4 separate regions of the Homo sapiens genome follow, and regions 1, 3 and 4 are each linked to region 2. Evidence: promoter capture Hi-C in 16 types of primary human blood cells and fetal thymus (Javierre and others, 2016). All regions are on one chromosome and are shown on one strand. The core of a region is centred on a gene start or on the middle of the fragment in contact, and the rest is flanking DNA. Distances in the headings are between cores, read along the strand shown. Region 1 overlaps SLC66A3 (solute carrier family 66 member 3). Region 2 holds the start of PDIA6 (protein disulfide isomerase family A member 6). Region 3 overlaps FLJ33534 (Putative uncharacterized protein FLJ33534). Region 4 overlaps CIMIP5 (ciliary microtubule inner protein 5).

What was found. Contacts are between HindIII fragments. The CHiCAGO score rates a contact against its expected background, and 5 or more counts as called.
Region 1: a contact is called between a fragment that was not itself captured here and the fragment with the promoter of PDIA6 in region 2, in 3 of 17 cell types (naive CD4 T cells, endothelial precursors and fetal thymus). The highest score is 6.9, in naive CD4 T cells.
Region 3: a contact is called between a fragment that was not itself captured here and the fragment with the promoter of PDIA6 in region 2, in 12 of 17 cell types (fetal thymus, M2 macrophages, megakaryocytes and 9 more). The highest score is 12.7, in fetal thymus.
Region 4: a contact is called between a fragment that was not itself captured here and the fragment with the promoter of PDIA6 in region 2, in 10 of 17 cell types (M2 macrophages, non-activated CD4 T cells, naive CD4 T cells and 7 more). The highest score is 9.8, in M2 macrophages.

The regions. Positions count from the first base shown.
Region 1 is chr2:11,176,824-11,179,701 of GRCh38, forward strand. SLC66A3 (solute carrier family 66 member 3) reads left to right here. Exons shown (of 7, transcript NM_152391.5): 7 at 914-2,033. The coding sequence ends at 1,005. Among named protein-coding and RNA genes, the nearest start is that of SLC66A3, 23 kb to the left of the region's middle. The HindIII fragment of the contact is 862 bases long and covers 825-1,686 here.
Region 2 is chr2:10,811,329-10,814,339 of GRCh38, forward strand. PDIA6 (protein disulfide isomerase family A member 6) reads right to left here and starts at 1,457. Exons shown (of 13, transcript NM_005742.4): 1 at 1,350-1,457. The coding sequence starts at 1,368. RefSeq lists an enhancer at 460-519 and a silencer at 1,010-1,759. The HindIII fragment of the contact is 7,767 bases long and covers 1-3,011 here.
Region 3 is chr2:11,122,224-11,124,923 of GRCh38, forward strand. It overlaps FLJ33534 (Putative uncharacterized protein FLJ33534), which reads right to left. Exons shown (of 9, transcript NR_040080.1): 4 at 2,360-2,562; 5 at 929-1,066. Among named protein-coding and RNA genes, the nearest start is that of FLJ33534, 8.6 kb to the right of the region's middle. The HindIII fragment of the contact is 1,228 bases long and covers 756-1,983 here.
Region 4 is chr2:11,138,440-11,141,260 of GRCh38, forward strand. CIMIP5 (ciliary microtubule inner protein 5) reads left to right here. Exons shown (of 3, transcript NM_001371321.1): 2 at 2,071-2,110. Among named protein-coding and RNA genes, the nearest start is that of CIMIP5, 6.7 kb to the left of the region's middle. The HindIII fragment of the contact is 7,524 bases long and covers 1-2,821 here.

The DNA of each region.
Region 1 (2,878 bases), core at 6-2,505, 370 kb after region 2:
GGCCAGGGAATAACTTTTTAAAAACAGTTCAGCTAAAATCTTACATGTGTTTTTCAAACACAAAGATATCTTAAATCTCATTAAACCTATTTATCAGGAGTGTATCCGTACCTTAAAGTAGAAGTTAAGTCACTGTTAAAGTTATATATATTTATTTATTTATTTTTCCACAAAGAGACACATTTTCATGGTTACTTGAATATAAAATATGCCTTGTCCTGTGGGCCAGTTTTTCAGGATGATCTTAACAGAGTATGTTAAACCACCCTTGCTTAATATGGAACGTTCTGAGACAGCAGCACCCTCAGGACGTCAGATGAGTAAAGGGATTTTTAAAAGTTATAACCCTTCTTAGGCTGGGCACAGTGGCTCACGCCTGTAATCCCAGCACTTTGGGAGGCCAAGGTGGGCAGATTACTTGAGGTCAGGAGTTTGAGACCAGCCTGGGCAACATGGTGAAACCCTGTCTCTACTAAAAATACAAAAAATAGCCAGGCGTGGTGGTGGGCACCTGTCATCCCAGGTGCCTGGGGAGCTGAGGCGGGAGAATCACTTGAACCCAGAAGGTGGAGGTTGCAGTGAGCCAAGACAGGCCACTGAACCCCAGCCTGGGTGACAGGGCAAGACTGTCTCAAAAAAAAAAAAAAAAAGTTAAAAGTTATAACCCTTCTTAGCCAGAGCCACATTACTGTCAATTGAGCACTTAAGATGATAAATTATTATTTATGAAGTTGGGCCAAGGGGCCAAAAATTGTCATGATAGGGAGATCATTTCCCCAGAAATAACTGGAACCAAAATTGTTCATTTCGGAGGTTGGGGGTGAAGCTTTATTTAGGCTTATACTTTGAGCAGGAGGTGGTTTTGGTCTGTATTGTAAAGACAGTTTTTAATACACTTTTTTTTTTATTTCAGTTCTTCTACGTTTTGTGATCATGCTGGCTTTAAATATATGGGTAACAGTGACAGTACTTCGCTACCGGAAGACCGCTATAAAGGCTGAATGATGGATACATTATTCCTTCACACAGTGGATTTTGAGTAACTGAACCAAAGGAAAAAGAAGCTCTTTGCTAAATTAAGGTCTTTTATAAATTTAGTAAATCAGTTTATAATCTTTAAAGCCAAAGGTTTTTTTAGACTTGAAAGAAAGAGCCACTTAAATTCTTGTTTAAAAATACCAATTTGCCTCCTCCTTCCTCACTTCGTTAGGTTATGGTAGTGCTCAGACATCTGCAGTGTTGAGGCCAGTCACTGTTGGAAGTCATCCAAGAAGCCCATTTTGAGGCCATTTTGAGCCTTACTCTTAAGTTCTCTATGAAGAACTACATTGATTTGTTGGCTTTCAGAATCTTTTAGGAAATAAATCCTCTCCAGGACAAAAATGAACATGAATGGAGTGGCATTTTGTTCCAAGTCAGAGGTGGGCACCTATAATAAATGACTAGGGTTCACTTTCTGGGACTGATGTTTAATTGTAACACAGATACAACAGGGTGGCCTTGTTGTGTATAATACGGTATTATACCCGCATGTGCTCTAGCAAGGATACCAAGGCAAGCATACATGTAGCTGGCTTGAGTTTGTACCAAAACAGTCCTTCAACTTTGCACTGTGCCTTAAGTAATTACTAACAAAAGGTACTAGGATTAGCTGCAATCTCTACTTTCGATGAGGAAATCCCAGTAAGCTTTCTGATTCAAGTACAATGCTGCCATTTTTTAAAGGGCCACAACTATAGAATTACCACTGTTGGAATTTGGTACAAAATATGTTTTGTCTATTGAAAACATACACGGTAAATGGTGTTGTTAGGTAGGTTCTGTCCAGTTCTTAGGGACTTTTTTCACATTATAGCATTTTTACCCTAAACATGATGTTGAGATTATTATATACTGTATTTTCTTCTAAATTAACCCTAATGTTTAAAAACTCACTTTCCCCCTTTAATTGAAGGCATTGTTTTGTTAGATGCAGTAATGATGTTTACCAGAGATTATTGTTTCCTATGCAAAATAAATTTTCATATTTTGAATTCTGCTGAGTCTTAAAACTGTCAATCATTAATATGACTATTTTATGTAAGGTATAGTTTTTAAACAAACTGGTTAATCCTTTTAGAACTACTGCTTGGGACCAACAGGAAGAGAAACATGGTATCTAAAGACAAAATTATTCATTCTGTAGTTGTTAAAATTACAGATGTCATATTTTTAAACATGCAAGTTAATCTTTTTTCATTTGCAGTTATAATCTGACCATTAGCATCAATACAAATTATATGATTTTTAGTCCAACAAATGTTATATTTAGATAACATTAGTACTTTATCACTGCTTAAAGCAACTCCTTTAAGAGCATACTTAGGTGACAGGGTCTCTGTTTTTCCCCCTTTGTAAGGCAACAAACACTCGAGCCATCTCAGACATTCTACACACATCATACTTACTTAATCTGCCAGTGATCCTGTAAAGTAGACACAATCTATATCTCCATTTTACAGATGAAAACACGGAGGCTCAGAGTGAATAACCTGCCCAAGAGCACATAGCAAATAAGTGCCCTAGAAAAGGTTCCACTGATTGCCAGAGAAACACTTTCTAGAAAATCACCTATCAATCAATCAGCACACTATTTCCTGACAAAACAGACATCCTGCCTCTTTTCCCTATCCTTACCAATTCAAATGAGTTTGTTCTATTATTTGCGTGCGTCTTAAAACACCCAAATCAGATCAGAGACAGGCTCCTGGTTGAAATTTGGTATTTCTCCATGAATTAAATCATAGGGCAGAAGAAACACAAGTCTACAGCCTTAGTTCTAAGACTTATTTACTATCCTCATCCCACTGTTTATACCCATCTTATAGAGAAAGCAAAT
Region 2 (3,011 bases), core at 207-2,706:
AGACCAACCTGAGCAATACAATGAGACCCTGACTCTACAAAAAATTTAAAAATTAGCCAGGTGTGGTGGCATGTGCCTGGATCCCTTGAGACCAGGAGTTCCAGGCTGCAGTGAACTATGATGGAAACCCTGCACTCCAGCCTAGGAGACAGAGCAAGACCGTGTCTCAAAAAACAGAAAGACATGTACTAACTCATTAATCCTCAGGACAACCCTAAGGGAGTACTATTATCAGTCCCTAAAATGGTGAACACCGTTGAAAAGGCACTGGCACAGAGTGGTTAAGTAACTTGCTCCAAGTCACAGAGCCAGTAAATAGGGGGAAGGTGGTCTGAGGCCAGAGCCGAGGTTAAGGACTGTCAGAGCCAAGGCTGTGACCAAGGCGAGCCCGGCAAGGACAGGACCCTCGGCCTCGCCCACTAAGAAGCAGACATTTACAGAATTCCTAAGACGCCGCGTTCCATTTCGTTTTTAAGGAGTCCGATCACATGCGAAGCGCCCCTGCGTCTTAAGCCCAGCTTTTGGAAGGCACTGTCCCTTTCTAAGGGAACTATGGGTCCTTATTTCAGGACTGAGATTTAACATTTCAGTTTTTCGTTTCTGAGACAGAGTTTCACTCTTGTTGCCCAGGCTGGAGTGGCGCGATCTCGGCTCACTGCAACCTCCGCCTCCTGGGGGTTCAGGAGATTCTCCTGCCTCAGCCTTCTGAGTAGCTGGGATCACTGGCGCGCGACACCACGCCCGACTAATTTTGTATTTTTAGTAGAGACGGGGTTTCGCCATGTTGGTCAGGCTGGTCTCGAACTCCTGACCTCAGATGATCCACCCGCTTCGGCCTTCCAAAGTGCTGGGATTACAGGTGTGAGCCACCGCGCCCGGCTTAACATTTCAGTTTTTAAAAGTAGGAGCTGCATAAAGCAGGTGGCAGAAACAAGCAGCAGTGCAGGACGCCCGCCAACCTCCGTCCCCACGCACGAGTTCGAGAAGAGCCCGGAACAAGCTCCCCTGCGACTCTCCGGGAATACAGACCCCCTCCCCGGGATCCGGCCGGGGCTGGGCTCCGCGGCTCTCCCGCCCGGCCCTGGACCCCGCGCCCGGCTCCAGCGCACGAGGCTCCCGCCCCCCGCGGCTGCGGAAGCCCCTCCCCACGGGCGCCCGAGTCTCCCGCGCACCCGCACCTCCGCCGGGGCAACCTAGCAGCTCCTCCGGACGCCGAGGCCCGCGCCTCCCGCCCGCCAGGCCCACTTCCGGCCGCCTGCGGCCGCGGCCCGCCGGGGAACGGCCTAGAGATTCGAAACCTTTCAGGCCGACCCCAGCTCGCCCGCCTCCCTCCGCTGGCCCGCACCTACCGAGCACCAGGAGAGCCATGCCGAGCGCCGGGCTACGTGCAGTCCCCACCGCCGCCGCCGCTTCAGCCCTGCAGCGTGCCGCACGCCGCGCCCCCGCGCCCACGTCCCGCCCCAGGCCAGTCCGGTGGTCCGAGGGGCGGCCGCGCGGGGGCGGGCCGGAAGGCGCTCGCCAAGCCGTGGCTGCGGCTCATTGGTCCGGGCGGACATCGCTCACTCACATATCCAATGGGAGGCGGCCGGGTAGAGGTTACCGGTTTGGTTTTTTTTCACGGGGGCGGTGGCGAGCAGCGGAAGGCGGGGCCTGCTGGGGGCGGGGCTGGCAGTCTCGGCTCGCACCGCCTCAGCTCCTCCGGGCCCTCTCGGGGTGCTGCTCGGAGGGGAGTCCAGTACTGGGCGTTTTTACCTTAGTTCCTTATTCTGCACCCCCCCACCCCGCCTCCTCCTTGCCTGTGTGCGCCCCCACCCTCTTTATCCCGGGGGAGCGTGACTCGGCCTCAGGGCACCCACGGTCCTGGGAGCTGACAGGGAATTCCTCTTGTGCCCGACGAATATTCCGTGGACACACATTTGCTCCGCACGCGCTGTCTGCAATGTAATTCGACAAGTTTCTATTTTGTTGAATTACTTTTGAAAGTTCTTCCGTCCAGGGCGCATGGCTCTGCAGAGCCTTCTCCTCCTTCTCTGGAGAACCCCAGGGACTTAAGCGGTAGCCTCCTCGCTGACAGGGTCTCCACTTTGTCCTGGGGGGCGAGGGGGCTGGCAATGCGCTCACGTGGGTGTGTGCTTTGTAAAATATGCAAAAGTGAAAAAAAATATGTTTGTGGGGCAGGCTGGCGAGCAGTGGCATGATACAGTTCACTGCAGCCTTGAACTCCTGGGCTGCAGTGAGCCTCCTGCCTCGGCCTCCCAAAGTGCTGGGATCACAGGCATGGGCCACCACGCCCGGCAAAAGTAAAAATTTTTTTGCTTTTTTTTGAGATGGAGTTTTGCCCTTGTTGCCCAGGCTGGAGTGCAAAGGCGGGGTCTTGGCTCACTGCAACCTCTGCCTCCCGGGTTCAAGCGATTCTCTTGCCTCAGCTTCCCGAGAAGCTGGGATGACAGGTGCATGTCACCACGCCCGGCTAATTTTTGTATTTTTAGCAGAGACAGGGTTTCTCTTGCCTCAGCTTCCCGAGAAGCTGGGATGACAGGTGCATGTCACCACGCCCGGCTAATTTTTGTATTTTTAGCAGAGACAGGGTTTCTCCATATTGGCCAGGCTGGTCTCGAACTCCCGACCTCAGGTGATCCGCCTGCTTCGGCCTCCCAAAATGCTAGGATTACAGTTGTGAGCCACCACGCCCGACCTAAAAGTAAAATCTTTCAAGCACAAGTTAAGACCACTGTATCTTTCCGCCTTGATTCTCCCTCCTATGTTTGGAGTGGACTCGGACATTTTGTTTTTGTATTAGTAATTTCTCCATATTGTAGTGTGTAAGGCATAAGTATTCTTAGGCAGGGGTCCAGGAGTGGTGGGGGCCGGCTGGTGGGCTTCCTGGAGGAAGTGGCACTAGAGCTGCGTTTGGAAGATTTTTCAGGCAAACTGAACTCAGAGGCACAGCAGCCCTCTGAAGTCACGGGGGCCTCTCCTGGAAGCCACATGCCAGCATTGATTTTCCCCAG
Region 3 (2,700 bases), core at 120-2,619, 310 kb after region 2:
CAAGTTTATTAAGAAAGTAAAGGAATAAAGAATGGCTACTCCATAGGCAGAGCAGCCCCGAGGGCTGCTGGCTGCACATTTTTATGGTTATTTCTTGATGATCTGCTAAACAAGGGGTGGATTATTCATGCCTGCCCTTTTTAGACCATATAGGCTAACTTCCTGACATTGCTGTGGCATTTGTAAACTGTCATGGCCCTGGTGGGAGTGTAGCAGCGAGGACGACCGGAGGTCACTCTCATGGCTGTCTTGGTTTTTGTGGGTTTTGACCAGCTTCTTTACTGCAACCTGTTTCATCAGCAAGGTCGTTATGACCTGTGTCGTCTTGTCCCATGACTTAGAATGCCTTAACTGTCCAGGAATGCAGCCCGGTAGGTCTCAGCCTCATTTTACCCAGCTCCTACGCAAGATGGAGTTGCTCTGGTTTACATGCCTCTGACATGAGCATGTGTGCCCACCTCGATCAAATCCATCAGGGGCACCTGCACCACTTAGCCCTGCCAGCCATTGGCCTGCTCCTACGGTGGGTCCCCTCCAGAAGTCCCCCAGAGCTCTTCCTCTCTTCACCTGCTTCCCGCCCACACATGCCCTGTGCTCCAGCCACAGGCACCCTGTCCAGATCCCTCCCCCATCTCCATACCTTCGCCCATGCTGTTCCCCCACCTGGCATGCTGGCACCCTCCTCCCCACCCCCACCCCAATCCAGCCACCTGCAAACTCCTCCAAGTTCCAGCTCAAGCCTTTATCCCCTTGGAAGCTTCCCAGAGAGGCTCAGACAGAAAAGACACAGCCAACTTACTATTCAGTGAGCCTCTCTCCCTGTCAGGGATACGAGGAAGGCCTGTCACTGAGACCCTACGATCCTGCCCAGCAGGGCTGCCACTCTCCAGCCCACTGTGGCACTCATATTGAGGACAGGGTCACATACCTGGTAATTATAACTTCAAGTCTATTTAACCATATGCCAGGCACTGTGCCAGGAGCCTTGCGTGGATCAACTCATCCAATCCTCACCCTCAGCCTAGAACTCGGAGGGCACAGAAGAGGCACAGCCACAAGGCTGCTGCTGCAAAGGACGACACAGGCAAATGCAGGTTGGAATAGGTGAAAGGGTCTCTCAAGGAAATGAGCTGGAGTCGGGCCTGGAAGAGCAGCAGAACATGCTCCTGGCCCTGCCACACACCTGGGTCCCAGAGCTACATGGAGCTGGCTGCCACCCCTGTCTGCAACCCTGGCCATCCCCGCAGGACGCCTGACAACTTCCTTACCCTGGCCTGCTGGCTAGAAACACCCGCCAGGCAGATGGCCTTTCTGACTGGCCTTCTCCTGGCTACTGCAGCCTCACCGGAGGGCCAGGGCCAGGGCCAGGGCCAGGCCAGGGGTGGCTCCTGCCTCAGCAGGACAGGGCAGCTCCAAAGGTGGGCTCTGCACCAGGGTCTCCCCTGAGCCAGGCAGGGGCTCCCCACGGGAGACAGTGCCAACCGCACAGGCCAGGGGTGCAAATTGAGGCTGGGGAAGGAGAGGCTGATCTCCTGGTGATCAGGGGGGCAGCACCAGCCTCAGCCATGCAGGTGTGAATTCCTCCCCACAGCCTGAGATCAGTGCCTCACCCCCGCCCTCTCTCCCCAGGCTCCCCGCTGGATTGCCCCTGCCTGACACCCCATGCTGGCAACCAGAGGCTGATTCTGCCCGACTGCCTCCAGCTCCTCGAGTGTTCAGCCTGGGTTCCAGAGGGAGGCCATACAGCCCCGTCAGAGACCACCAGGGAAGTATCACAGACCGCAGCCAGCGGGTGAGCTCAGCTGGGAGTTTGCACCAAGCCTGGCTCCGGAGTGTGGCCTGACTGACGCAGGCTGGGACCACCCTACATGGGCCGGCAGGTGTGGGTACGTCCTGGGGCTCAGAGAGGGGCTTGGAAGGCCAAAGGCAAGGCGGCCGGACCCGTTATCGCAGCACATAGCATCCCCTTGACTTGCTGGGAGAAGCTTGCGCCCTCATAGTTAGCAATTCCATGGCCACTGGAGGCCAGAGTGGGAGCTGGGAGGCTCTGGACACCATAGCTTTGGGCCCCCCGGCCCTCTCGGGCTGGTGTTCACCTGTAAATGCTGCTTCCGCTGTTCAAGCGCTGATGCTCCTCGTCGCTCACGGGTGAACAGCTGCTGCCCACCTCCAAGACCCCCCGCACCCTGCACGGCAGGTGACCTCTTGCGTCCCTTCTGGGCCCTCCCTGTGGATTTAGAATGTCGCACCTGCCTGCCGAGGCTCACAGCTGGGTTCCTTTCACAGACACCGTATCCGGACAATCCATTTGTTCTGTCTTTAATCAGAAATGGCCATAGCGAACTACCGTGCGTCCAACCTGAGACACCTGGGGATGGTGGAGCCAGGGGAGATGCCGCGGGCCTGAAGGAGGATGCGAAGCTCCAGGGTGCCCCCTGCTGCCTCCGGAGCGTGCTGCAGTCATGGCCGACGTGGACCTGGCAACCTGCTCCGATCTTCAGAAATATTATCCACGAGACCTGCTTTCTCCCATAATGCATTCGGCTGGCCACCCATGGGAAGCTACAGAATAAAGAACATAAAGACATGCTCCAGAATATGTTCCCAATGCTTAAAATTCCCCCAACTCCCAGGAATCTAGAGTCTTTGAAATATAGATCATTGAGTATCTTTTTGATAACCGAAGTAAAACTGTTTATG
Region 4 (2,821 bases), core at 292-2,791, 330 kb after region 2:
GAACAAAGGGAAGGGCAGGGGTAAGAATGATAACTCTTCATCTCCCATAATAGAAAGTCGATAGATAAGTTTAAATTTTAAAAAATATTAAGAAACAGCAGTGGATATGGTGTGGATCTGTGTCCCCACCCAAATCGCATGTTGAATAGTAATCCCCAGTTTTGGAGGTGGGGCCCGGTGGAAGGCGATTGGATCATGCGGGTGGCTTCTCATAAATGGTTTATACCATCCCCATGGTACTGTCCTCACAGTAGTGAGTTCTCACCAGATCTGGTTCTTTTAAAGTGTGTGGCACTTCCCTTCTCTCTCCTTTGCTCCTGCTCTGGCCATGTGACCTGCCTGCTGCCACTTTGCCTTCCACCATGATTGTAAGTTTCCTGAGACCACCCCAGAAGCTAAGCAGATGCCAGCATCCTGCTTCCTGTACAGCCTGTGGAACTGTTAGCCAATTACACCTTCTTTTTTTTATTTTTATTTTTATTTATTTTTATTTTTTGAGACAGAGTCTCACTCTGTCACCCAGGCTGGAGTGCAGTGGCTTGATCTCTGCTCACTGTAACCTCCACCTCCTGGGCTCAAGCGATTCTCCTGCCTCAGCCTCCCTAGTAGCTGGTATTACAGGCGCCCGCCACCATGCCCGGCTAATTTTTGTATTTTTGGTGGAGACAGGGTTTCACCATGTTGGCCAGGCTGGTCTCGAACTCCTGACCTCAGGTGATCCACCCACCTTAGCTTCCCAAAGTGCTGGGATTACAGGCGTGAGCCACCGCACCTGTCCTACACCTTCTTTATAAATTACCCAGTCTCAGGTATTATTTATAGCAAGGCAAGAATGGCATAATACAGCAGTAGAATCCTATTATTTCAAAATATGGATGCAAAGGCCTGAAGAAACAGCTAAAAGGCTGGCAAAGGTTTGACTCTAGGATGTGGGGCTCAGGGGCTGTGAGGATGGGGACAGAGAAGGCTGTTTTTATTATGTTTTGTAGAATTGTTTGACTTTTTAAGATTAGATTCAAATAAAACTAAATGGCCAGTGCAAGCTAATACTATCCTTATGGTCCCTCCCTTTTCCTACCTCTCCCTAGCCTTCCTCTATCACTCACATTGGAAAGTTACAAAGGTTTGGGGATGTGAAAACTTTTTTCTTCAGAGAATGCTTGCCTACTGTAGCCTTCTGAAATGCACAGAGGCAGGGCGAGATGGTAGCCTTTGCTTTCCTTAGGCAGCCCCACCATAGTGACATCATATTTGTCGTTCTAGGAAAAGTCATTGGAAATTGAAATGTTTGTTCCTTTGGTAGGATACACCATAAATACCTGCTTGACACTTGGCATTTGTTTCACTTAAAAATTATTTTGTTCTGGCTGGGCACAGTGGCTCATGCCTGTAATCCCAGCACTTTGGGAGGCCAAGGTGGGTGGACCACCTGAGGTCAGGAATTCAAGACCAGCCTGACCAATATGGTGAAACCCCATCTACACTAATAATACAAAAATTAGCCGGGTGTGGTGGCATGCACCTGTAGTCCCAGCTACTTGGGAGGCTGAGACAGGGGAATTGCTTGAACCTGGGAGGCAGAGGTTGCAGTGAGCTGAGATTATGCCACTGCACTTCAGCCTAGGTGACAGAGCGAGACTCCCTCTCAAAAAAAAAAAAAAAAAAAGGCTGGGCGTGGTGGCTCACGCCTGTAATCCCAGCACTTTGGGAGGCCGAGGCGGGCGGATCACAAGGTCAGGAGATCGAGACCACGGTGAAACCCCATCTCTACTAAAAATACAAAAAATTAGCCAGGCGCGGTGGCGGGTGCCTGTAGTCCCAGCTACTCGGGAGGCTGAGGCAGGAGAATGGCGTGAACCCGGGAGGCGGAGCTTGCAGGGAGCCAAGATTGCGCCACGGCACTCCAGCCTGGGTGACAGAGTGAGCCTCCGTCTTAAAAAAAAAAAAAAAAAAAAAAAATTATTTAGTTCTTCCACGTGATACATTGTTGCATTGACTTGACACAGTGAAAGTCATTGGTAAAAATGTCCTGGAAGGAACTCACACAGCCAACATGTTTTTCCTTTCCAGGATTCAGAACTGGAGTTTCCTGAAAGACTATGACCCAATGGTAAGGTAAAATATGTTCCTGCCAAACATACTTGCAATTGAATATTACTCATTCTTTCCATCATTCAACTAACATTTATTGAAGATCTACTCTACACCAGATACTGGATGTGCAGCGATGAGTCAAATACACTCTTGTTTCAAGGAATGCAGGGTCCGTTGGATAGAAAACAGTTACATGAAGCATTTAGAAATGTGTTTCCCTCAGTGTTTCTTAATTTTATTAAGATGAACCAATTGGAAATGACAGGCATCTGTTGCTGAAATGTCTCCCCTGATTGAGGATGGCAGCAATATGTAGTCATATCTGTGTGGCGTGCCCGAGAAGGACAATGAGATTGGGTAAAAATACTTTGTAAACAAATTCCCTGACTCTGGTATCACCACCTCCAATCCATCCTCCACATTGCCACCAGACTAATTTCCCTAAACGGCAGAACTGGCCATGTAGCTCCCCTGATTAAAATGCTTCAGTAAGTCTGAAATTTTCAGGTGGCTTACAAAGCCTCCTGTGATCTAAACCATCTATCTCCCCAGCCTCATTACCCACCCCACACAGACCCCACAACACACTTTTTTTTTTTTTTTTTTTTTTTTTGAGATGGAGTCTTGCTCTGTCGCCCAGGCTGGAGTGCAGTGGTGCAATCTTGGCTCACTGCAATCTCCACCTCCTGGATTCTAGTGATTCTCCTGCCTCAGCCTCCTGAGTAGC